4 separate regions of the Homo sapiens genome follow, and all the other regions are linked to region 2. Evidence: promoter capture Hi-C in 16 types of primary human blood cells and fetal thymus (Javierre and others, 2016). All regions are on one chromosome and are shown on one strand. The core of a region is centred on a gene start or on the middle of the fragment in contact, and the rest is flanking DNA. Distances in the headings are between cores, read along the strand shown.

The links. Contacts are between HindIII fragments. The CHiCAGO score rates a contact against its expected background, and 5 or more counts as called.
Region 1: a fragment that was not itself captured here is called in contact with the fragment with the promoter of ZNF559 in region 2 in 5 of 17 cell types (activated CD4 T cells, naive CD8 T cells, naive CD4 T cells and 2 more); the score reaches 7.5 in activated CD4 T cells.
Region 3: the fragment with the promoter of ZNF426 here is called in contact with the fragment with the promoter of ZNF559 in region 2 in 17 of 17 cell types (fetal thymus, naive CD8 T cells, total CD4 T cells and 14 more); the score reaches 14.6 in fetal thymus.
Region 4: a contact is called between a fragment that was not itself captured here and the fragment with the promoter of ZNF559 in region 2, in 1 of 17 cell types (fetal thymus). The highest score is 5.7, in fetal thymus.

What each region holds. Positions count from the first base shown.
Region 1 is chr19:9,554,763-9,560,717 of GRCh38, forward strand. ZNF121 (zinc finger protein 121) reads right to left here. Exons shown (of 4, transcript NM_001008727.5): 4 at 5,567-5,955. Among named protein-coding and RNA genes, the nearest start is that of ZNF426-DT, 19 kb to the left of the region's middle. The HindIII fragment of the contact is 7,013 bases long and covers 1-5,685 here.
Region 2 is chr19:9,319,707-9,326,110 of GRCh38, forward strand. It overlaps ZNF559 (zinc finger protein 559), which reads left to right and starts at 4,473. Exons shown (of 7, transcript NM_032497.3): 1 at 4,473-4,522; 2 at 4,989-5,074. ZNF559-ZNF177 (ZNF559-ZNF177 readthrough) reads left to right here and starts at 4,473. Exons shown (of 13, transcript NM_001384659.1): 1 at 4,473-4,522; 2 at 4,989-5,074. RefSeq lists an enhancer at 4,317-4,566 and a silencer at 4,737-4,876. The HindIII fragment of the contact is 3,488 bases long and covers 2,756-6,243 here.
Region 3 is chr19:9,537,391-9,543,113 of GRCh38, forward strand. It overlaps ZNF426 (zinc finger protein 426), which reads right to left and starts at 1,255. Exons shown (of 8, transcript NM_024106.3): 1 at 1,185-1,255; 2 at 869-955. ZNF426-DT (ZNF426 divergent transcript) reads left to right here and starts at 1,276. Exons shown (of 2, transcript NR_134921.1): 1 at 1,276-1,608; 2 at 2,016-2,340. RefSeq lists enhancers at 561-1,296, 1,303-1,352, 1,553-1,622, 2,277-3,476. The HindIII fragment of the contact is 12,585 bases long and covers 1-3,619 here.
Region 4 is chr19:9,514,585-9,520,860 of GRCh38, forward strand. It overlaps LOC105372268 (a long non-coding RNA gene), which reads right to left and starts at 6,256. Exons shown (of 3, transcript XR_001753862.2): 1 at 5,551-6,256; 2 at 1-70. It also overlaps the pseudogene LOC100418883. The HindIII fragment of the contact is 5,045 bases long and covers 1,632-6,276 here.

The DNA.
Region 1 (5,955 bases), core at 929-3,428, 230 kb after region 2:
AAGTGATAAAAAACTTAATAAAGGCAATACAGGAAATTATCTCGATAATTTCTTGTAAAACCTTTCTTAGACCAGCTACCAAAAAGGTAAAGAAAAACCTTCTACAGTGTGATTATTTCTCCTTATGCAAAGTGCATTTAGATAACCTGGAAGTTGGCCAGGCATGGTGGCTCACACCTGTAATCCCAGCACTTGGGAAGCCGAGGCGGGTGGATCACTTGGGTCAGGAGTTCGAGACCAGCCTGGCCAACATGGTGAAACTCTTTCTCTACTAAAAAACACAAAAATTAGCCAGGGGTGGTGGCACACACCTGTAGACCCAGCTACCAAGGAGGCTGAGGCAGAGAATCACTTGAACCCAGGAGACAGAGGTTGCAGAGAGCTGAGATTGCGCCACTGAACTCCAGCCTGGGTGACAGAGCAAGAATCCATCTCAAAAAATAAAATAAAAATAAAAATAACCTGGAAGTTGAACGTGATGAAAAGTGTGCTTGGATTTAGTTAGGAATATGTCCAAGGCTATGAGTGTAAAAATTTAGGTACATCAAGAAAAGCCGAGAGTACAGAATCAAGTTATACAGAGCAAATACATTGCTTTTCTAGGCCTTCATGATAAATATTTCAGTGTCAGGCCATAATAGCCGATTTAGAACCAAAGAAAAAACTTACAGGAGCAGACAAAAAAGTTGGAGACAGTCATCATCCCAGACCTTCTCAATGTGAAAAAAAGAAGGCAATGATGTATGACCTGCAAATGACATACACTGAGATGCAAGTAAAGTTGAGCCTCTGAGACATGAATGAGAAATCTGAAAAAACAAAACTCTACCTCAACAAATTGGCTGGTTTTGGTTTTGGTGGCTCGTTCCTGTAATCTCAGCACTTTGGAAGGATGAGGCAGGAGAGTAACTTAAGGCCAGGAGTTTGAGACCAGCCTGGGCAACATAGCTAGATGCCATCTTTATTAGTCTGTTCTCGCATTGTTATAAAGAAATAACTAACAGTGGGTAATTTATAAAGAAAAAAGGTTTAATTGGCTCACAGTTCTGCAGGCTGGACAGGATGTATGTTGCTGGCATCTGCTTGGCTTCTGGGGAGGCCTCAGGAAACTTACAATCATAGCAGAATGCAGAGGACCAGGCATGTCACATGGCCGAAGCAGGAGCAGGAGAGAGGGGGAGGTGCTACTCACCTTTAAACGACCAAATCGAGTGACAAGAACTCACTCACTATCTATCACGAGGACAGTACCGAGGCAGGTAGTGCTAAATCACTCATGAGAAATCCACCCCGCCATGATCAAGTCACCTCCCACCAGGAACAACCTGTAACATTGGGAATTACAGCTGAACATGAGATTTGGGTGGGGACACATATCCAAACCACATCATCATCTCTACAAATTTTTTTAACTGTATGAAATTCCACCTCAATAAATAAAATTACTGTTTTAAATGATGAGGACAGCATTTAAAACCTGAAAACTACAGAAATTAAATCGATCTCAGGAAAAAATGTGGCCGAAATAGAAACTAGAGTTTAGAAGATGGCTACTAACAGATTTTAGAACGAACAAACAAAACGTCTTGCAAATTTATTAAGTGCAGATAAATATGTCAAAAAAAAACACACCTTCTTGTTTTCAATATAGAGGACCAGATTCTGGTCCTGTATCAGTGCACCCAACACCACTGTTTAATTTTTAGGAAAAAAATATCCTATGTACAATTTCTTTTCAATCCTAGCCAACACAATCATACAATAAACTGTCGGTAAGGCTTATCTTTTATAAATCCTATTCAAATTGTTTAGACGTTTAATCATTTTCTTAAACCTTCAGTCTTAGACTTACAGTTTTCTCCTTTTATATTGGTACAACCAATCATTTTACCTTAGGACAAAAATTTACCACATAAGATTCTCACACAAAAATTACTTTTTCCTAAATTTGTATTTGGAGTAATAGACCAAAATATATCTACTCTTTTTAGAAATTTTAAGAAGCCAGCTGGGCACGGTGGCTCATGCCTGTAATCCCAGCACTTTGAGAGGTGAAGGCAGGTGAATCACCTGAGGTCAGCAATTCAAGACCAGCCTGGCCAACATGGTGAAACCCCATCTCTACTAATAATACAAAAATTAGCCTGTCATGGTTGTGGGCACCTGTAAACCCAGCTACTCGGGAGGCTGAGGCAGAATTGCTTGAACCTGGGAGGCAGAGGGTGCAATTAGCTGAGATTACACCATTGCACTCCAGCTGGGTGATGAGTGAAACTCCGTCTCAAAAAAAAAAGAAAGAAATTTTAAGAAGCCAAGAATGAATATATATTTTTTCAGTAATTTGTTTGCCTTATATCTTATTTGGATATGACCCAGATAATTAATATTATTTAAGATTTTAAATTACATGAAAAGTTTATTTATAAACATTTATTCCATTTACAGTTACCTTTAATTTCTAATTACACCTAGATTACTTATTAAGATTTGACACAGCTAGTCATTGTTTTAAATTATTTTTTATTAACCAATTTTATATCCTGTTAATATTGTTTACCAAAGTTCAAACCCTACACTAAATACATGGTTATTCTGTCAATAACTCAGAAGATATAGCTATTGTTATTAAATCAAAAATATTAAGTAAATCTCACTTATAAAAGAATTGCACAAAGATCATTGTTTTAGATTGGGTTTAGCTTCATGAACTTAAAGTATCTAATAGAGACAGACACAACACTGTCAGACCAGTAAACCCAGACAAAAATATATGCTGACAATTTTGAAGACATATCTAATTTTATCGACAACTTTAAAACCAATTAATTTATAAAAGAATTGTCATGTGAACTTAAAAAAAATTGTGTTCATTTTTTTATGAACACATTTTTTTTGATCTGCCCTCCTCGGCCTCCCAAAGTGCTGGGATTACAGGCAGGAGCCACCATGCCCAGCCTGATTTCTGTAGTTTTATAGTAACTTTTGACATCAGGAAGCATGAGTTGCTCTTTTTTAAAATTGTTTTTAATACTGGGGCTCCAGTTATGTGTGGGCTTTCATAACCTAATTTCAGAACTGGCTTACCAGAACTTCTGCCATATTCTGGTGGTTACACATATCAATCATAGTACAGTATGAGAGGATTACACAAGGGTAGTCCTCAAATACCAGGAAGCAGAAACTGGAGGCCAATTTGGAGGCTGCCTAGCACAGAGAATTTGTCAATGTCTAATATACTACCTATTTAATCCAGCAATCCTAATTCTAGGAATTTGTCCTGAATGTAAATGCCTAAATATACAAAAATACACATGCTCAAGAATACTAACTGCATCCCTGTTAGTAATTGCAAATTTGAATTCTCTAATTGATGACATGTAGTAGAGCAGCTGAATATTACATGGTACATCCACAAAAGGAGTATTATGCAGCTACAGAATGAAGGTGAAAAAGGAAGATATATCTATGAATTTATATGGAGTGGTTATCAAGATACACTGTTAGGCAAAAATAGAAACTGCAAGAGTATAGTATGAAACTTTTTTTTTTTGGAGACGGAGTCTCACTCTGTTGCCCAGGCTGGAGTGCAGTGGCGCCATCTCGGCTCACTGCAAGCTCTGCCTCCCGGGTTCATGCCATTCTCCTGCCTCAGCCTCCCGAGTAGCTGGGACTACAGGCGCCCACCACCACGCCTGGCAAATTTTTTGTAGTTTTAGTAGACAGGGGGTTTCATCGTGTTACCCAGGATGGTCTCGATCTCCTGACCTTGTGATCTACCCGCCTCAGCCTCCCAAAGTGCTGGGATTAGAGGCGTGAGCCACCGTACCTGCCTGAAATCTTTTTTTAAATGGGCAATAACAAATATATATATGTTCATTTTTGCTAGAAGAAAACACAGGATTATTCAGAGAAAAAGGTTCATTACCTATAGCTGATGGGATAGGAACAGGTTGTAAAGGACAGTGAGATTAGAACAGACTGGAAAGGATAAGGCAAGAAAAACGTTTATGTTTAGTTCTAATGTTTAAAGTATGCAATTAGGTGGGCGTTGTGGCTAATGCCTGTTACACCAGCACTTTAGGAGGCCAGGATGGGAGGATCCCTTAAGACCAGGAGTTTGAGGCCAGCCTGGGCAACATTGCCACATCCTGTCTCTACAAAAATTTAAAATTAGCCAGTCCTGGTGGTGCACGCTGGTAGTCCTACCTACTCAGGAGGCTGAGGGAGAAGGACTGCTTGATCTCAGAAGTGTGAGGCTGCAGGGAGCTATGACTGCACCACTGCACTCCAACCTGGGTGACAGAGCAACACCCTGTCTCAAAAAAAAATAAGGGTAAAAAATTTAAAAACTGCCTGCACCTGGTGGTGCATGCCTGTACTCCCAGCCTCTTGAGACACTAAAGTGGGAGGAGTGCTTGAGCTCAGGAGCATAAGGCTGCAGTGAGGTACAATCATGCCACTGCTCTCCAGTCTAGGTGACACAGCAAGATCCTGACTCAAAAAAAAAAAAAAAGATAAACCAGTATAAAATAAAACATACTATTGTTTCACATATTAATTTTTTTGGGACAGTCTCACTCTCTAACAGGCTGGAGTACAGTGGCACAATCTCAGCTCACTGCAACCTCCACCCCCAAGGTTCAAGCGATTCTTCTGCCTCAGCCTCCCAAGTAGCTGGTATTACAGGTGGGTGTCATGACGCCTAATTTTTTTCTTTGAGACAGTCACGCTCTGTCACTTAGGCTGGAGTGCAGTGGTGCAATCTTGACTCACTGCAACCTCTGCCTCTGGGGTTCAAGCAATTCTCCTGCATCAGCCTCCCCAGTAACTGGAACTACAGGCACCCACCACCACGGCCGGCTAATTTTTCTATTTTTAGTGGACACGGGGTTTCCCTATGTTGGCCAGGCTGATCTTGAACTCCTGACCTCATGATCTGCCCACTTAGGCATGAGCCACCACACCCAGCCTTTTATTTATTTTTTTTGAGACAGAGTCTCACTCTGTCACCCATGCTGGAGTGCAGTGGCACGATCTCGGCTCACTGCAACCTCCGCCTCCCGGGTTCAAGTGATTCTCCTGCCTCATCCTCCTGAGTAGCTGGGACTATAGGCGCCTGCCACCATACCCAGCTAATTTTTGTATTTTTAGTAGAGATGGGGTTTCACCATATTGGCCAGGCTGGTCTTGAACTCCTGACCTTGTGATCTGCCTGCCTCGGCCTCCCAAAGTGCTGGGATAACAGGCATGAGCCACGGCACCCAGCCGCCTGGCTAATTTTTGTATTTACGGTAGAGACAGGGTTTCACCATGTTGGCCAGGCTGGTCTCCAACTCCCAGTCTCAGGTGATCCGCCCACCTCGGCTTCCCAAAGTACTGGGATTACAGGCATAAGCCACCATGCCTGGCCTGTTTTACATATCTAATTTAAAAAAAAATCGACAAGGATAACGGTGTGACACAAAATGGAAAATTAACAGGAATTACTGAAATGAACTTTGTATCAAATGGATAAAAATTCAACAATGAAGAGGGGGGTAAAAAGCACAAAATTGACCCAAGTAACTTCTTTTATTACAATTTTTATTGTGATAAAAACACATAAAATTTACCCTTTCACATACTTTGTGTGTACCGAAGAGTATTGTTAACTATAGGCATATTTTTATACAACAAATCTCAAAAAGCTTTTCCATCTTGCGTGGCTGACACTCAATACCCATTGAACAACTCATTTTCTCCTCCACCAGCTTGTGGCAAATACCGCAGTACTTTGTTCTTCTGAGTTTGACGTTAGATACCCCATATAAGTGGAAATGGGTGTATTTGTCCTTTCGGAACTGGTTTATTTCACTTAGCATAACGTCCATGTTGTAGCATATGGCAGAATTTTGTTTTTAAGGCTAAATGATATTGCATTGTATGTATATAATGCATTTTGTTTACCAATTCATC
Region 2 (6,404 bases), core at 3,223-5,722:
AAAAACCAAACACCGCGTGTTCTCACTCATAGGTGGGAATTGAACAATGAGAACACATGGACACAGGAAGGGGAACATCACACACGGGGGCCTGTTGTGTGGTGGGGGGAGGGGGAGGGATAGCATTAGGAGATACACCTAATGTTAAATGATGAGTTAATGGGTGCAGCACACCAACATTGCACATGTATACATATGTAACAAACCTTCACGTTGTGCACATGTACCCTAAAACTTAAAGTATAATAAAAAAAAAAGTGTCCTTGCAAACCACACTGATAACAAGCCCTACTGGGTGATTGGCCTGCTCCATTTTCTGTCCTCTCTGAACCACCAAGGTTTGTTTGTCTGAGGGCCATGACTAAGTCTGCGGCCTTTCTCTTATCTCGCTTTTCCTTTTTGGCCTGTTCCTCTTGGTCCCTATTATAGAACACCAAGGTTGCCAGGTTTAATAATGCCTCCAAATTTTGTTCAGGGCCAGGGCTAGCTTTTGGAGCTTTCTCCTGATATCTGCGGCTGATTTGGTAATAAACTTATCTTTGAGGATCAATTGACCCTCGAGAGAGTCAGGTGACAGGAGAGTATATTTTCTTAAGGTCTCCCATAGTCACTCAAGGAAGGTGGTAGGATTTTCTTCCTTTCCCTGAGTTATGGTGGACTTCATTGAATGATTCATGGGCTTTTTTCTAATTCTCCATAGTCCTTCTAGAACACAGGTCAACAGATGTTTGCAACTCCAGTCCCCATGATCTGAGTCGAGGTCCCAGTGGGGATCCATACTGGGGATGGCTTGCTGACCCATAGGGAATTTGTCCCTTTCTTCAGCTGTCATTCTATCATTTACTTGACTAAGATACCAGGTATCTCCAAACTCTCAGGCTGCAGCTAAAGCCGCATTCTTTTCATTAAAGGCCAGTGTTTGATCTAACAATAGCATGACATCTCTCCAAGTGAGGTTGAAGGTTTGCCCTAGACCCTGTAGGACATCTATATACCTATAAGGATCATCTGAAAACTTCCCCAGGTCTACCTTGATCTGCTTTAAATCAGAGAGGGAGAAGGGGACATGTACCCGGGTTGGGCCAAATTCCCCTCTCCCTACAGCTTGAAGGGGACAAAACCGATAGCCGGCGGGGGGGGGGTGGGGGCTGTGGTACCTTGGAGATTTCTTTGCTTGTTTCTTTCTGGGTGGGGGAGATTAGAGGAGGCTTATCAGTTTCCATTGGCTAGAACAGGACCTTCCATTCTGTATTTGTCCTGATTGGCTAGCAACTTAGGACTTTTTAAAAGAGGCAAAGGCAGAGGAGAACAAAGGATGGAGGAAGTAACTTGTGGGATGCTGAGAAAGGTAAAAACACCTTCAGATAAGGAAGAGGAACAGACTATGACCTAATGCTTGCTTGGACCAGTATAAGCATGCCAGGGCAAATATTTAGGCTAAATTGTGGGAGCTAAGAACATAAAGTACACTGATTTCTTTATTACAGCTAGCAGATATTTAAGAATGTTAGTGAGAGGTGACAGTGTGCTGGCAGTCCTCACAGCCCTCGCTCGCTCTCGGCGCCTCCTCTGCCTGGGCTCCCACTTTGGCGGCACTTAAGGAGCCCTTTAGCCCACCGCTGCACTGTGGGAGCCCCTTTCTGGGCTGGCCAAGGCTGGATCCGGCTCCCCCAGCTTCACGGAGGTGTGGAGGGAGAGGCACTAGCGGGAACCAGGCTGCGCACGGTGCTTGCGGGCCAGCTGGAGTTCCGGGTGGGCGTGGGCTTGGCAGGCCTGCACTCGGAGCAGCCAGCCGTCCCTGCCCCGGGCAATGAGGGTCTTAGCACCCGGGCCAATGGCTGCGGAGGGTGTGCTGGGTGCCCCAGCAGGGCCAGCCCACTGGCGCTGAGCTCGATTTCTTGCGAGGCCTTAGCTGCCTTCCCGTGGGGCAGGGCTCGGGACCCGCAGCCTGCCATGCCTGAGCCTTCCCCGCCACCACGCCCTCCTCCCCCCCGCCCTCCTCTCCCCCCCGCCCTCCTCCCCCCTGCCACCCTCCTCCCCCACTCCTCCTCCCCTCCTCCCCCCGCCCTCCTCCCCCCCACCCTCCTCCCCACCCCCCTCCCCACCCCCACCCTCCTCTCCCCCTGCCCTACCCCCCGCTCCTTCCCCCTCCTACCCCCTCCTCCCCCGCCTCCTCCTCCGTGGGCTCCTGTGCAGCCGGAGCCTCCCCGACAAGTGCCGCCCCCTGCTCCACGGCACCCAATCCCGTCGACCACCCAAGGGCTGAGGAGTGCGGGCGCATGGCGCGGGACTGGCAGGCAGCTCCACCTGCAGCCCCAGTGCAAGATCCACTGGGTGAAGCCAGCTGGGCTCCTGAGTCTAGTGGGAACTTGGAGAACCTTTATGTCTAGCTAAAGTATTGTAAATACACCAATTGGCACTCTGTATCTAGCTCAAGGTTTGTAAACACACCAATCAGCACCCTGTGTCTAGCTCAGGGTTTGTGAATGCACCAATCAACACTCTGTATCTAGCTACTCTGGTGGGGACTTGGAGAACCTTTGTGTCGACACTCTGTAGCTAGCTAATCTAGTGGGGATGTGGAGAACCTTTGTGTCTAGCTCAGGGATTGTAAAGGCACCAATCAGCGCCCTGTCAAAACAGACCACTTGACTCTACCAGTCAGCAGGATGTGGGTGGGGCCACATAAGAGAATAAAAGCAGGCTGCCCCAGCCAGCAGTGGTAACCCGCTTTGATCCCCTTCCACGCCGTGGAAGCTTTGTTGTTTCACTCTTTGCAATAACTCTTGCTACTGCTCACTCTTTGGGTCCACACTGCTTTTATGAGCTGTAACACTCACCGCGAAGGTCTGCAGCTTCACTCCTGAAGCCAGCGAGACCACGAGCCCACCGGGAGAAATGAACAACTCCAGACGCGCCGCTTTAAGAGCTCTAACACTCACCGCGAAGGTCTGCAGCTTCACTCCTGAGCCAGCAAGACCACGAACCCACCAGAAGGAAGAAACTCCGAGCACATCCGAACATCAGAAGGAACAAACTCCAGACGTGCCACCTTAAGATCTGTAACACTCACCACGAGGGTCCCCGGCTTCATTCTTGGAGTCGGTGAGACCAAGAACCCACCAATTCCGGACACATTAGTACAGGTCTTTGAATAAATTTTGCTTCTAACAGAAGTTACTATTTATTCCTAATTAGATGGGCAGGAAAGTCTTTGAAGAGGAACCTCTACTTTACTTTTTACTGTAGAGAGAGTAGTCTTTGATCTTGGGGAGATGGGGTTTTTCCTTTTGGTTTAGCTTCAGGAAGTTTGTGTTAATTGGCCTTAGGTGCCCTGCCCCCAGCCCCAGGTGTTTTTCCTTTGATTTAACTTTAGGAAATTATCACGAATTGGCCTTAGATTCCCCGACCCCAGATCTTGGTGTTTTCACTTTTAGGAAGTCCGCATGAATCTTATCTATGCTCTTAACTACGTCCTAATTTTTGTGTTTTTTGTCTTTTTTATAGGAATAGGGTTTTGCCATATTGCCCAGGCTGGTCTCGAACTCCTGAGCTCAAGTGGTCTGCCTGCCTCAGCCTCCCAAAGTGCTGGGATCACTGGCGTGAGCCATCAGGCCCAGCCTCTATGTGCTAATTTTTGAACAAATTCCAATAGGAGCATTCTAGTCTCTGAGTGTGAGATGACCAAAAATCAAGCCCTTGTGAGGCTGAATAGAGTCGGGAGGCAGGGAACTTAAGGCTGTTTCAGGCCGACTTCCTAGAACTAAATTGAAAGGAAAACCCTCACTTTCCTCGCCTAAATAACAAAAGGACCAGAGGCTACTCCCTTTGACCTTTTCTGCTGGCAGATAGGAAATTGGCTGTCTGCAACAAATCAGACTGATGGCCGGTTGAGTCTTCATTTGCATAGAAGTGTAACTTTGTAACGTCGTAACTTCACCCTAGCCTTTGATTGGTTGCTTTTTGCAACCAATCAGATGTTTGCACAGGAGTGTGACCTTTGTAACTTCAGACTCTGGTTGGCTGCTTTCTGCAACCAATCAGACTGAACGCGGGCTACCGCTTCATTTACAGGAGGTGAGCATGAAGTGGCCAATGGGAAAATTCTAGGAGGTATTGGGACTCATGAAGGTTCTGTTTCGGAGCCCTTGAGCTGCCGCTTGGCCAGTTCCCACACTGTGGAGTATGCTTTCGTTTTCAACAAATCCCAGCTCTTGTTCTTTTGTTGCTTCATTCTTTCTTTGCTTTGCTGGGCGTTTTGTCTAATTCTTTGTTCAAAACGCCAGTAACCTGGACAGCTTGCAGTCAAGACCCCCTACCGGTGACACTTGCGCTCTTCGGGGAGGTAAACAGCATTTCCTCTCAGCTCTGGGTTGGAAAAAGCCGCAGCAGCTGATGGGCCCGGGAACCCGAGGCCCCGCCCCCTAGGTGGTCCTAGCCTTTGCGCGTGCGCGGCGTGTCTGCGTGGGCGCATGCGCATAACGGCCGCCATCTTAACAGCGCGTTCCCGTTGGCGTCTGAGGTAAGTTTTTGTTTCTGGGCGGCGTTCGGTGGTGTCCCGGTGCAGCCACGCGAGAGTAGAAGGGTGGAAAGGGGAGGTGCCCAGTGAAATGGAGCCTGTCCCGTGCACTTTCGGGCATTTCGAGCATCTTGTGGGCTCTCCCAAGTCGCGGCCCCTCCTCTGAGAGCCACAGTCAGGTCTGTCCTCAGGGGTCGAGGCGGCTGCGCTGGGGCCTCGGCCCGGGAGGAGGCGGGGGGCACGGCCTTTCCATTTTCCCTGCTCCCCTCTGCAGAAGCCTCATAGGGCCCGGCGCGGCGGCTCACGCCTGTCATTCCCAGCGCTTTGGGCGGATTGGGTAGGAGGATTACTTGAGGCCAGGAGTTCAAGACCAGGCAGGGCAACATAGGGAGACCCCCCCCCCCAACCATCTCTAATGGAAAAAAAAAAAAAAGTCTCCACATCCAGCGTTGTGCCTTTTCTCTATAAGGAACAGCATCTCTGCCTTCCTGTTCACGGTGACCTTCGCTTGGTGTCCTCCTGGCCTCAGCAACCTGACAATTCTGTCGTGTCCCGGTGAGCACTTCATGCACTTGTTCTGGCTGTGGGTGTCGGGTCTTGAAGTTTAAGTTGTGTCGAGGTGGAAAGAAACCTTTTCAGGTGGTTGTTCGAGAGCACATGGATCTGATACCATCGAATGCATGAGTGGATGAATGCACATAACTGTAAAATTTACCACCAAGGAAAAACACAGGACTACTCAACTGTGGTTCCAGGCCATCACCTAGATCTCACTCTAGCGCCCTGTAGATTCCCCCAGAGGTTCAAAACGAGGGCATCCCCAGGAACACGGTGCGGGCTGATTTACTAGCAGGAGGGATTGAATTGATAATGAATGCGAAGATAACTTTTGACAGGTGGGTTTTCTACCAGTTACTCATTTGAAAGTCTTACTGAGGGCGGGGCAAGGTGGCTCACACCTGTAATCCCAGCGTTTTGGGAGGCTGAGGCTGGAGGATCGCTTGAGCCCAGGAATTTGATGCCAACCTGGAAAAAATAGGGCAAGCCTCTGTCTCTACTAAAAATAAAAAATTAGCTGGGCATGGTGGTGTCTGTGGTCCCATCCACTTTGGAGGCCGAGATGCGAGGATCACTTGAGCATGGGAGGTCGAGGCTGCTGTGAGCCATTATTGTGTCACTGCATTCCAGCTTAGGCAACAGAGTGAGACCCTGTTTCAAAAAGAAGAAAAAAAAACAAATACTGATCTAGAGAACATCTGTAGCTCGAGTAAAACAAATGTCTTTAGTCCAGGTGTGGTGGCTCACGCCTGTAATCCCAGCATGTTGGGAGGCTGAGGCTGGCGGATCACGAGGTCAGGAGTTTGAGACCAGCCTGGCCAACATAGTGAAACCCCGTCTTTACTCAAAATACAAAAAATTAGCCGGGCGTGGGCACCTGTAATCCCAGCTACTCAGGAGCCTGAGGCAGGAGAATCGCTTGAACCTGGGAGGCAGAGGTTGCAGTGAGCCAAGATTGCACCCTTGCATTCCAGCCTGGGCAACAGTGCGAGACTCCGTCTCCAAAAAAAAAAAAAAAAGTCTTTAACCCTTAACTACATTCACTAGTTGTTAAGATTTGTTTCATTTTTTTGTATATGTACTTTATCATGAGCCATTTAAATTGGAAGTGAATGAACTTTCCCCTTTTAAGCGTGTATCTCAAATACCTCCTGAAAGTGAAGACAAGCTTAAAACAAGACTTCATTGTCCATCCCCACCCCCAAATCAAATCAGATTTCCCCAGCTGTCCAAAAGTCACCATAGTCACCATTATAGTTGCCAGGTTGTTTGCATGTTTTTAGATCTGTTAAATCTGTTTTTTAACTAGACTATTCACCTGATTTTT
Region 3 (5,723 bases), core at 5-2,504, 210 kb after region 2:
CTAGGGCTGACTAGGCCCACAAATATTCAGTTTGGTGGCATCTGTATAGAATATTTAACTCTTTTTTTTTTTTTTTTTTTGGAGAGATGGAGTCTTGCTATGTTGCCCAGGCTGGTCTTAAACTCCTGGGCTCAAGAGATCTTCCTGCCTCAGCCTCTCAAAGTGCTGGGATCACAGGTGTGAGCCACTGTACCCAGCCAGCTTTTTTTTTTTTTCATTGATATACAATCAATGTAGCTTAAAATGCACACATCCTTCGTTTCTCTTTTTTTTCTTTTGAGACGGAGGCTCACTCTGTCTCCCAGGCTGGAGTGCAGTGGCACGATCTCAGCTCACTGCAACGTCCGCCTCCTGGGTTCAAGTGATTCTCCTGCCTTAGTCTCCCAAATAGCTGAGATTCCAAGACCCCACCACCACGCTCGGCTAATTTTTTTTCTATTTTTAGTAGAGACGGGGTTTCACCATCTTAGCCAGGCTGGTTTCAAACTCCTTAATCCAACCATCCTGTTCATTGTAAATTTGATTATTGTGATACTAGAATAATAAAGCCTTCATCCTTTCCCTCTGGAGGTCTGATTAAGAAGCTCTCTTGGGATGTACAGGCCTAGGAACTCCATTCGAAGATAATGAATTATTATTCTTAGTATTCTTTAGCAGAAAGACTTGCGGTCTACAAACGTTTATATTCACATACACAAATACGCACACCCTATAAACCTAAAAAGCATCTTTATCTTTCGCCATGAAAGTAATGGTCAAAAATAAAACACAACACAATAAGACGAAACCAAACTTACAGATGAAACATTCGTTTGCATAAGAGAAGACAGAAAAGGCCCCCTAGAACCAACTTTCACCCAGTGCTCACCGGAACACTCAGAAATCGCCAGGTCCCTGAACCGGGAAGATCCTGGGGACGGAGCCAACGCGGATGCAAAAGGCAGCAATTATTTTCCTGCCGGAAAAAAATTCACAAACGCTGCTTTGGAGGCCTTTGGAGAGGGGCGCACAGATGAAAACACCCTGCGGACACCGTAACTATAAACCCGACTCCTCCCGAGGAGCGACGGTCCGAGCGGACGCTAGCGGGCCCAGCAGACACGAGCAGAGCGGGCCAGGCCTCTCTAACGTCCGGGCCAAACCCGTCCTTCACCCCAAAACCAGTTCATCTCCTCGGAACTCACCCAGGCCAGTGAGGCCTTAACTCTGAAAGGCAAAAAGACTCTCAGGCGCTCACAGCCGGCGTCACAAAAGGAACGGCGCACCGCTGACGTCATTTACGCTCTCCGCCTCGGGCCAGGCGGGGTTTCGGGACTAGGGTTTCTGCCGTGTAATACCTCCTCGAGGCAGAAAAATTCTACTTTCCATCTGCTTGGCTGCGGAGGACCTTGGGGTGGGCTCAGCGTGGGGGCTGCAGGCAGAAATGGGTCCAGAAGGCAAGGTCGAGGTTAGAGCCAAGCCTGTGGGCAGGGCTACGGGCAGGGGGCGGGGAGGAATGTGGGTCCAGGCCCAGAGGAAAAGGTTGAAGTTATAGCCAGGCCTGTGGGCGAGGCCGCAGCAGGGCGGCCATAGGGGAAGGAGCCAATGTGTTATGCATGTAGAAAATAGGTAACTACGTCTTTTGCTCTGTTACTATTTCAACATTTGATGTAAAAAACATTTTCTATGCAGCTAAAAGAATTGTTTTTAAAAATAATTTCTAGGTTTTCTGCCTTGCTTTAAAACATCTTTTCTTTTTTTTTGAGACAAAATCTCACTCTGTCACCAAGGCTGGAGTTCAGTGGAGCCATCTCAGCTCACTGCAACCTCCACCTCCCAGGTTCAAGCGATTCTCCTGCCTCATCCTCCCAAGTAGCTGGAATTACAGGTGCATGCTGCCACACCCTGCTAATTTTTGTATTTTTAGTAGAGGCAGGGTTTTGCCATGCTGGCCAGGCTGGTCTTGAACTACTTGTCAGGCCTCTGAGCCCAAGTTAAATCATCATAAACCCTGTCACCTGCACGTATACATCCAGATGGCCTGGAGCAACTGAAGAACCACAAAAGAAGTGAAACAGCCAGTTCCTGCCTTAACTGATGACGTTCCACCATTGTGATTTGTTGCTGCCCCACCCCAACTGATCTCTTGACCTTGTGACATTCTTCTTCTGGACGAGTCTCAGGAGTTCCCCACCGAGCACCTTGTGACCCCCGGCCCTGCCAGCAAAAGATAACCACCTTTAACTTTCCACTACCTACCCAAATCCTATAAAACTGCCCCACCCCTATCTCCCTTTGCTGACCCCTTTCTCGGACTCAGCCCACTTGCACCCAAGTGAATAAACAGCCTTGTTGCTAACACAAAGCCTATTGGTGGTCTCTTCACATGGATGTGTGTAACATTTGGTTCCGAAACCTGGGACAGGGGGACTCCCTTGGGAGACTGGCCCCGTCCTCACCCTCACTCCGTGAGGAGCTCCACCTACTACCTCGGGTCCTCAGACTAGCCCAAGGAACATCTCACCAATTTCAAATTGGGTAAGCAGTCTCTTCACTCTCTTCTCCAGCCTCTCTCACTACCCTTCCATCTCTCTGTCCTTCCAATTCCAGTTCTTTTTCCTCTCCAGTAGAGACAAAGGAGACACATTTTATCTGTGGACCCAAAACTCCAGCTCCAGTCACGGACTCAGGAAGACAGTCTTTCCTTGGTGGCTAATCACTGTAGGGATACCTGCCTGATTATTCACCTACATTCCATTGGTGTCTGATCACTGTGGGGATGCCTGCCTTGATCATTCACCCACATTCCCTTGGTGGCAAGTCAATTGCAGGGCTGCCTGCTTTGGCTGCTTACCCACATTACAGCCCAGGGCTGCTCACCCCCACCCCACTCCACTGCCTTCTCCATGTCTCTACCTTTCTCTTTAAACTTACCTCCTTCACTATGGGCAATCTTCTGCCCTCCATTCCCTGTTCTTCTCCCTTAGCCTGTGTTCTCAAGAACTTAAAACCTATTCAACTCACACCTGACCTAAAACCTAAATACCTTATTTTCTTCTGCAACACCACTTGGCCCCAGTACAAACTTGACAATGGTTCTAAATGGCCAGAAAATGGCACTTTTGATTTCTCCATCCTACAAGATCTAGATAATTTTTGTCATAAAATGGGCAAATGGTCTGAGATGCCTGACATCCAGGCATTCTTTACACATTGGTCCGTCCCTAGTCTTTGCTCCCAATGTGACTCATCCCAAATCTTTCTTGTTTCTTTCTTGTCCTTTGAATCCTCCTTTTCTATGGACCCATCTGACCTCTCCCCTCCCCCTCAGGCTGCTCCTCGCCAAGCTGAGCCAGGTCCTAACGTATCCAGAATTGGTGGGTTCTTGGTCTCACTGACTTCAAGAATGAAGCCGTGGACCCTCGCGGTGAGTGTTACAGTTCTTAAAGGCGGCGTGTCTGGAGTTTGTTCCTTCTGATGTTCGGATGTGTTCAGAGTTTCTTCCTTCTGGTGGGTTTGTGGTCTCGCTGGCTCAGGAGTGAAGCTACAGACCTTTGCGGTGAGTGTTACAGCTCTTAAAGGCAGCATGGACCCAAAGAGTAAGCAGTAGCAAGATTTATTGCAAAGAGCAAAAGAACAAAGCTTCCACAGCGTGGAAGGGGACCCAAGGGGGTTGCCACTGCTGGCTCAGTAGCCTGCTTTTATTCTCTTATCTGGCCCTACCCACATCCTGCTGATTGGTAGAGCCGAGTGGTCTGTTTTGACAGGGTGCTGATTGGTGTGTTTACAAACCTTGAGCTAGATACAGAGTGCCAATTGGTGTTTCCACAATCCCTGAGCTAGACATAAAGGTTCTCCACATCCCCACCAGACTCAGGAGCCCAGCTGGCTTCACCCAGTGGATCCCGCACTGGGGCTGCAGGTGGAGCTGCCTGCCAGTCCCGCGCCATGTGCCCGCACTCCTCAGCCCTTGGGTGGTTGATGGGACTGGGCACCATGGAGCAGGGGGGAGCTCTCATCAGGGAGGCTCGAGCTGCACAGGAGCCCATGGAGGGGGTGGGAGGCTCAGGCATGGCGGGCTGCCAGTCTTGAGCCCTGCCCTGTGGGAAGGCAGCTAAGGCCTGGCGAGAAATCAAGCGCAGCACCAGTGGGCTGGCACTGCTAGGGGACCCAGTACACCCTGTGCAGCTGCTGGCCTGGGTGCTAAGCCCCTCATTGCCTGGGGCCAGCAGGGCCGGCCAGCTGCTTCGAGTGCAGCCGCCAAGCCCACGCCCACCTGGAACTCCAGCTGGCCCGCAAGCACCATGCACAGCCCCAGTTCCCGCTCGCGCCTCTCCCTCCACACCTCCCTGCAAGCTGAGGGAGCTGGCTCCAGCCTTGGCCAGCCCAGAAAGGGGCTCCCACAGTGCAGCAGTGGGCTGAAGGGCTCCTCAAGTGCCGCCAAAGTGGAAGCTCAGGCAGAGGAGGCGCCAAGAGTGAGCGAGGGCTGTGAGGACTGCCAGCACGCTGTCACCTCTCACTAATTCTTCCTCAGCCTCTGCTCCCTACCCTGTGATCTTTCTATCACCTCCCCTTCTCACACCCGGTCCAGCTTACAGTTTCATTCCATGACTAGCCCTCCCCCACCTGCCCAACAATATCCTCTTAGAGAAGTGGCTGGAGCTGAAGGCATAGTCGAGGTTAATGCTCCTTTTTCTTCATCCAACCTCTCCCAAGTCAGTTAGCATTTAGGCTCTTTTTCATCAAGTATAAAAACCCGGCCCAGTTCATGGCCTGTTTGGCAACAACCCTTAGACAGTTTACCACCCTAGAACCAGAGAGGCCAGAAGGCCATCTTATTCTCAATATGCATTTTATTCTCAATATGCATTTTATTACCCAATCTGCTCCCAAGACTAGAAAAAGCTCCAAAAATTAGATTCTGACCCTCAACCCCCACAACAGGACTTAATTAACCTCACCTTGAAGGTGTACAATAATAGAGAAGAGGCAGCCAAGTGGCGTTGTATTTCTGAGTTGCAATTACTTGCCTCTGCTGTGAGATAAACCCCAGCCACATCTCCAGCACATAAGAACTTCAAAATGCCTAAACCACAGAGGCCAGGTGTTCCTCCAGGACCTCCTCCCTCAGGTTCTTGCTTTAAGTGCTGGAAATCTGGCCACTGGGCCAAGGAATGCCCGCAGCCCAGGATTCCTCCTAAGCCATGTCCCATCTGTGGGACCCCACTTGAAATCGGACTGTCCAACTCACCTGGCAGCCACTACCAGAGCCACTGGAACTCTGGCCCAAGGCTGTCTGACTGACTCCTTCCCAGATCTTCTCGGCTTAGCAGCTGAAGACTGACACTGCCCGATCACCTCGGGAGCCTCCTGGACTATCACAGATGCTTTGGGTAACTCTTACAGTGGAGGGCAAGTCTGTCCCCTTCTTAATCAATACAGAGGCTACCCACTCCACATTACCTTCTTTTCAAGGGCCTGTTTCCCTTGCCTTCATAACTGCCGTGGGTATTGATGGCCAGGCTTCTAAACCTCTTAAAAATCCCCAACTCTGGTGCCAACTTGAACAACTTTCTTTTATGCACTCTTTTTAGTTATCCCCACCTGCCCAGCTCCCTTATTAGGTCAAGACATTTTAACTAAATTCTCTGCTTCCCTCACTATTCCTGGGCTATAGCCACACCTCATTGCCACCCTTTTCCCCAGTTCAAAGCCTCCTTTGCCTCCTCCCCTTGTGTCTCACT
Region 4 (6,276 bases), core at 2,904-5,403, 190 kb after region 2:
AGCAGACCTTCTTCATTCACGTCCTTGAAGTCCCTGTTCATGATGCCACTTTGCCACAGACCCTGGTGGACTGAACAAAGGGGGACAAACAGAAATAAAGACAAAAACAAAAATATCTGTTTTAAAAGAAGGGGTTGGGGGCTCCTTGCTTCTAGTGAACAAGGGCCCTGAGCTTCTAGAGCCCTTCATATTTATTGAGTAAAGGAAATAGGGAGGAGGGGGTGATTGTCAGTCAGTTGCTTGATTTAGTGCAGGTCTCCATGACTGCTTTCTTTGAACAGTAGGCTCCAGATATTCCAGTAGATAACCTCAAGGAGCACAGCACCAGGGAGCGATTGCCCTAGGCATAACTTCTGGTGGCAGGCGCAGATGTGAGTTTGCCCACATGCTGCATTTATGATAAACAGTTTGCTGTTTGATCATATAGCCTCCAGTGGAATGCTGAGTTGGTCACAACCCTCAGGCTTTCAGCTCCCCAAATTTTTCACTATAGAGAATTCCTTTATGTAAGGAATTACTTCTTTCAGCACTCTTTGTCTTTGCTATTTGACATTTTGATGATAATGTGACTCACTGTGGGCCTCTCTGAGTTTCTCTTACTTGGAGTTTGCTGAGCTTCTTGGATTTAGAGATTCATGCCTTTCGTCAAATTTGGAAAGTTTTACCCATTATTTCTTCACATTTTAATTCTTCCCCTTTATTTGTCTGTTATCTTTCTCCAATGGCTTCTCACTAGACAAGGTTATCCCACACAATGACACTTTTCTGCCTGGGGCTCACCTGTACAGGTGACTTGAAGGATTCCTCTCTTCTCTGACCTCACCATTTTGTGCTACACCTTCTTAATCATACTACATTTGCAGAGCTGATACCCTGCTCATGGGACAAGACACAGGATGTGGGAGTCATGAGTAGGAGACAAGAACTTTGCATAAAAAGAATTCTAACACTTTGGATTTAAAGCGTTCTGAAGATAGACAAGTCCAATTTTAGAAACAGCAAAATAATAAGAGTAGAAAATTTTCACAAGGACTCAAAAGCAAATACCCTCACTCACTACCCCATATAGAACTAATCCTTGAAAACCATAACAGAGAAAATGAAATCCGTGCAATGAACAGATTTTTATTTTCCTGGGAAGTCACTAGACTGCCTCACAAGGACAGGAACCATCCATTTTGTGTTCACCACTAACTTGCCATTATTATGGCAAATCTTGGAACACAAGACATGCTTAAGAACAACTATTTGCTGCATTACGAAAGAAGAAGGAACAAGGCCAGCCTGCTCCATCAAGGTTAAGTTTCTAAAGTTCTCCAGCAACATGTCTCTGTACAGGTTTTCCCAAACAAAGTCCAGTAATACCCACTCCTCCAACAATAAGTCTACTGCCATTTACTTGAAGGTCAAGGAGTTCTAAAACATCACTCATATATTCTGGCTCAGGCAATGAGCATCTTCAAGAATGTACCAGGATGGATATCGCAGGAGGATGATGGATGGGCTGGTAGCACTAGGGAAGGAGACTCAAAACAGGAATTCAGACATGTTCTTGAGGCCACTTATTATCTGCCCCATGACTAACTTCTCTCCTCTTTTACCCACAGACACTGAACCACCTTCTAGATAGAAGCTTTAATGGCTTCACTAGCATATAGTTGACCTGATTTTTCCAGTATGTTGTAAAAACTCATCCAGTGGCCAGGCATGGTGGCTCATGCCTGTAATCCCAGCACTTTGGGAGGCTGAGGTGGTTGGATCACCTGAGGCTGGGAGTTTGAGACCAGCCTGACCAACATGGAGAAACCCCATCTTTACTAAAAATAAAAAATTAGCCTGGCATGGTATCTCATGCCTGTAATTCCAGCTACTTGGGAGGCTGAGGCAGTAGAATTGCTCAAAGCTGGGAGGTGGAGGTTGTGGTGAGCCGAGATTGCACTATTGCACTCCACCCTAGGCAACAAGAGTGAGACTCCATCTCAAAAAAAAAAAAAGGGAGGGGAGTAGGGGAGAATGAATATTGAGAAGACAACTAGCTATTATTTGACCTGCGAGGTCAGAGAGAATTTTCTTATAAATAAGAATAAAGAGGCCAGGAGTGGTGGCTCACGCCTATAATCCCAGCACTTTGGGAGGACGAGGCAGGTGGATCACGAGGTCAAGAGATCAAGACCATCCTGACCAACATGGTGAAATCCCATCTCTACTAAAAATTAGCTGGGTGTGGTGATGCACGCCTGTAGTAATAGCTGTAGTTCCAGCTACTCAGGAGGCTGAGTCAGGAGAATCGCTTGAACCCAGGAGGTGGAGGTTGCAGTAAGCCAAGATTGCACCACTGCACTCCAGCCTGGTGACAGAGCAAGATTCCACCTCAAAAATAAATAAATAAAAGAATAAGGAAGCTGAGCGCGATGGTTCATGCCTGTAATCCCAGCACTTTGGGAGGCTGAAGTAGGTGGATCACCTGAGTTCAGGAGTTCCAGACATGCCTGTCACCCCAATATGGTGAAACCCCGTCTCTACTAAAAATACAAAAAATTAGACAGGCATGGTGGCACGTGCCTGTAATCCCAGCTACTCAGGAAGCTGAGGCAGGAGAATCACTTGAACCTGGGAGGCAGAGGTTGCAGTGAGCTGAGATCATGCCATTACACTCCAGCCTCGACAACAAGACTAAAACTCTGTCTCAAAAAATATATATAAATAAAAATAAAGGGCCAGGCGCAGTGGCTCACACCTGTAATTCCAGAACTTTGGGAGGCCAAGGTGGGCAGATCACGAGATCAGGAGATCGAGACCATCCTGACCAACATGGTGAAACACCATCTCTGCTAAAAATACAAAAATTAGCCAGGCGTGGTGGTAGGCATCTGTAGTCCCAGCTACTCGGGAGGCTGAGGCAGGAGAATTGCTTGAACCCAGGAGGCAGAGGCTGCAGTGAGCTGAGATCGCGCCACTGCACTCCAGCCTGGACAACAGAGCAAGCCTCAGTCTTAAAATAAAATAAAATAAAATAAAGGCCAGGTGCAGTTGCTTATGCCTGTAATCCCAGCACTTTAGGAGGCCAAGGCAGGAGGCTCTCTTGAGGCCAGTGGTTCTCGACCAGCCTGTGCAACATAGTGAGACCCCCATCTCTATTTTTTTTTTTTTTTGAGACAGAGGCTCGCTCTGTCGCTCAGGCTGGAGTGCAGTGGAGCGATATTGGCTCACTGCTAGCTCTGCCTCCCAGTTTCACACTATTCTCCTGCCTCAGCCTCCTGAGTAGCTGGGACTACAGGCACCCCACAACGCCTGGCTAATTTTTTTGTATTTTTTTAGTAAAGACAGGGTTTCAGTGTGTTAGCAAGATGGTCTCGATCTCCTGACCTCGTGATCTGCCTGCCTCCGCCTCCCAAAGTGCTGGGATTACAGGAGTGAGCCACTGTGGCCGGCCCCCCATCATCTCTATTTTTTTTTATTTTTTTTTTAAAGAAGAAATGCGACCGCTGAGACTGCATCTATCCCGCGAGCACAAAGCCTTGCCCTGGCCACTCTGCCGCCTATACACGCCCGCTGTCAGCTCACCATGGATGATGATATTGAGGTGCTTGTAGTTAACAATGGCTCCGGCATGTGCAAGGTCAACTTCGTGGGCGACAATGCCCCCCGGGCCATCTTCCCCTCCATCGTGGGGCATCTGAAGCACCAGGGCGTTATGGTGGGCATCGGTCAGAAGGACTCCTACGTGGGTGAAGATGCCCAGAGCAAGAGAGGCAACCTGACCCTGAAATACCCCATCGAGCAGAGCATTGTCACCAACTGGGATGACATTGAGAAGATCTGGCACCACACCTTTTTTTTTTTTTTTTTTTTTTTGAGACGGAGTCTCGCTCTGTTGCTCAGGCTGGAGGGCAGTGGCGCAATCTCGGCTCACTGCATGCTCCACCTCCCGGGCTTATGCCATTCTCCTGCCTCAGCCTCCTGAGTAGCTGGGACTACAGGCACCCGCCACCACACCCGACTCATTTTTTGTATTTTTAGTAGAGATGGGGATTCACTGTCTTAGCCAGGATGGTCTCGATCTCCTCACCTAGTGATCCACCCACCTCGGCCTCCCAAAGTGCTGGGATTACAGGCATGAGCCTCTGTGCTCAGCCTGGCACGACACCTTCTACAATGAGCTGCATGTTTCTCCCAAGGAGCACCCGGTGCTGCTGACCGAGGCCCCCTTGAACCCCAAGGCCAGCCATGAGAAGATGACCCAGATCATGTCTGAGACCTTCAACTCCCCATCCATGTATATAGCCATCCAGGCTCTGCTGTCCCTGCACGTGGCCTCCAGCTTCTCCCTGAAGAAGAGATTCCAGCTGCCTGACAGCCAGGTCATCACCATCAGCAACGAGCGGTCCCCGCTGTCCCATGGCACTTTTCCAGCCTTCCTTCCTGGACATGGAATCCTGTGGCATCCATGAAACTACCCTCAACTCCATCATGAAATGTGACATTGACATCTGCAAAGACCTGGATGCCAACCCAGTGCTGTCCAGTGACACCACCATGTACGCTGGTATTGCTGACAGGATGGAGGAGGAGATCACCACCATGGCTCCCAGCATGAAGAAGATCAACATCATTGCTCCTCCTGAGCACAAATATTCTGTATGGATCAGTGGCTCCATCTTGGTCTCGCTGTCCCCCTTCCAGCAGATGTGGATCAGCAAGCAGGAATACGAGGAGTCCGGCCTCAGTATTGTCCACCCTACCACAAATACTTCTAGGCGGACGGTGACTTACATTATAACCTTTCTTGACAAAAACCTAATTTATGCAGAAAATAAGATTGGTTTTTTTTTTTTTTTTTTTTGGCTTAAGATTTAAAACCTGGAATGGTGAAGGTGACAGCAGTTAGTTGGAGCGAAGAATCCCAAACGTTCTACAATGTGGCTGAGGACTTTGATTATACATTGTTCTTTTTTTAAATAGTCATTCCAAATATCGGGAGGTGCATTCTCTTTTTTGTTTTTTTGAGACAGAGTCTCACTCAGTCGCCCAGACTGGAGTGCAGTGGTGCAAATTGGCACAGTGCAACCTCCGCCTCCCAGGTTCAAGCGATTCTTCTGCCTCAGCCTCCCAAGTAGCTGGGATTACAGGTGCACCATCACACCCAGCTAATTTTTGTATTTTTAGTAGAGATGGGGTTTAACCATATTGGCAAGGATGGTCTCGAACTCCTGACCTCATGATCCACCTGCCTCAGCCTCCCGTGCTGGCATTACAGGCGTGAGCCACCTCGCCCGGCTGGGAGGTGCATTCTTACTGGAAGTCCCTTGCCCTCCCAAAAGCCACCCCATTTCTAAGGAGAATGCCCAGTCCTCTCCCAAGTTCACATGGGGTGGTGATAGCATTGCTTTTGTGTAAATTATATAAAATTTTTTAAATCTTTGCCTTTGTATTTTTAATTTTGAATGATCAGCCATCATGTCCCCCCATTTTTGTCCCCCAACTTGAGATGTATAAAGGCTGTTGGTCTCCCTAGGGGTGGGTGGAGGAATGGAGGCAGCCAGGGCTTACCTGTACACTGACTTGACAGCAGTTGAATGAAAGTGCACACCTTAAAAAAAAAAAAAGGAAAGAAAAGAAATTCCATGTAGACCCATGGTATGACCAATTATCAATGACACTAGAGAGGACTATCTAAAAGCATCTATTAATAATCCCTCATGACAGCCAGGTGAGGTGGCAGAGGTTGCAGTGAGCAGAGGTTGCACCCCTGGACTCCAGCCTGAGTGACAGAGGGAGACTCCATCTCAAAGCAAAACCAAAAAATCCCCAAGTTTTGCAGAATCTGGATTTTATGGAAAAAAAAAGAAAAAACAAAAACAAAAAAACTTATCTTGGCAGTTAAACACACGCTCACTGTTAAATGAACATATAATGCAAATGAGAAAGTGTTTACAACTGCAGTCATGAAGAAAGTGCTAATTTATAAAATGTGCATAACAGAACAAGTAATATATTCAGAAACTCTTTCAAAAACAAATTTAATCACATAAAACCACCACAGAAAACTAAGGGGCCACACGTCTTATCTGAGAATAGGACAAACAGAAAGACAATTTCATCTTCATGTCATTTATTTGAATGTATCCCCAAAATGAATTATCTTATTTGCAACAAGAGTGATACAGAAAGGCTTCCAGAGCTGGGCAGGGTGGGTCATGCCTGTAATCCCAGCACTTTGGGAGGCTGAGGTGGGTGGATCACCTGAGGTTGGGAGTTCGAGACCAGCCTGACCAA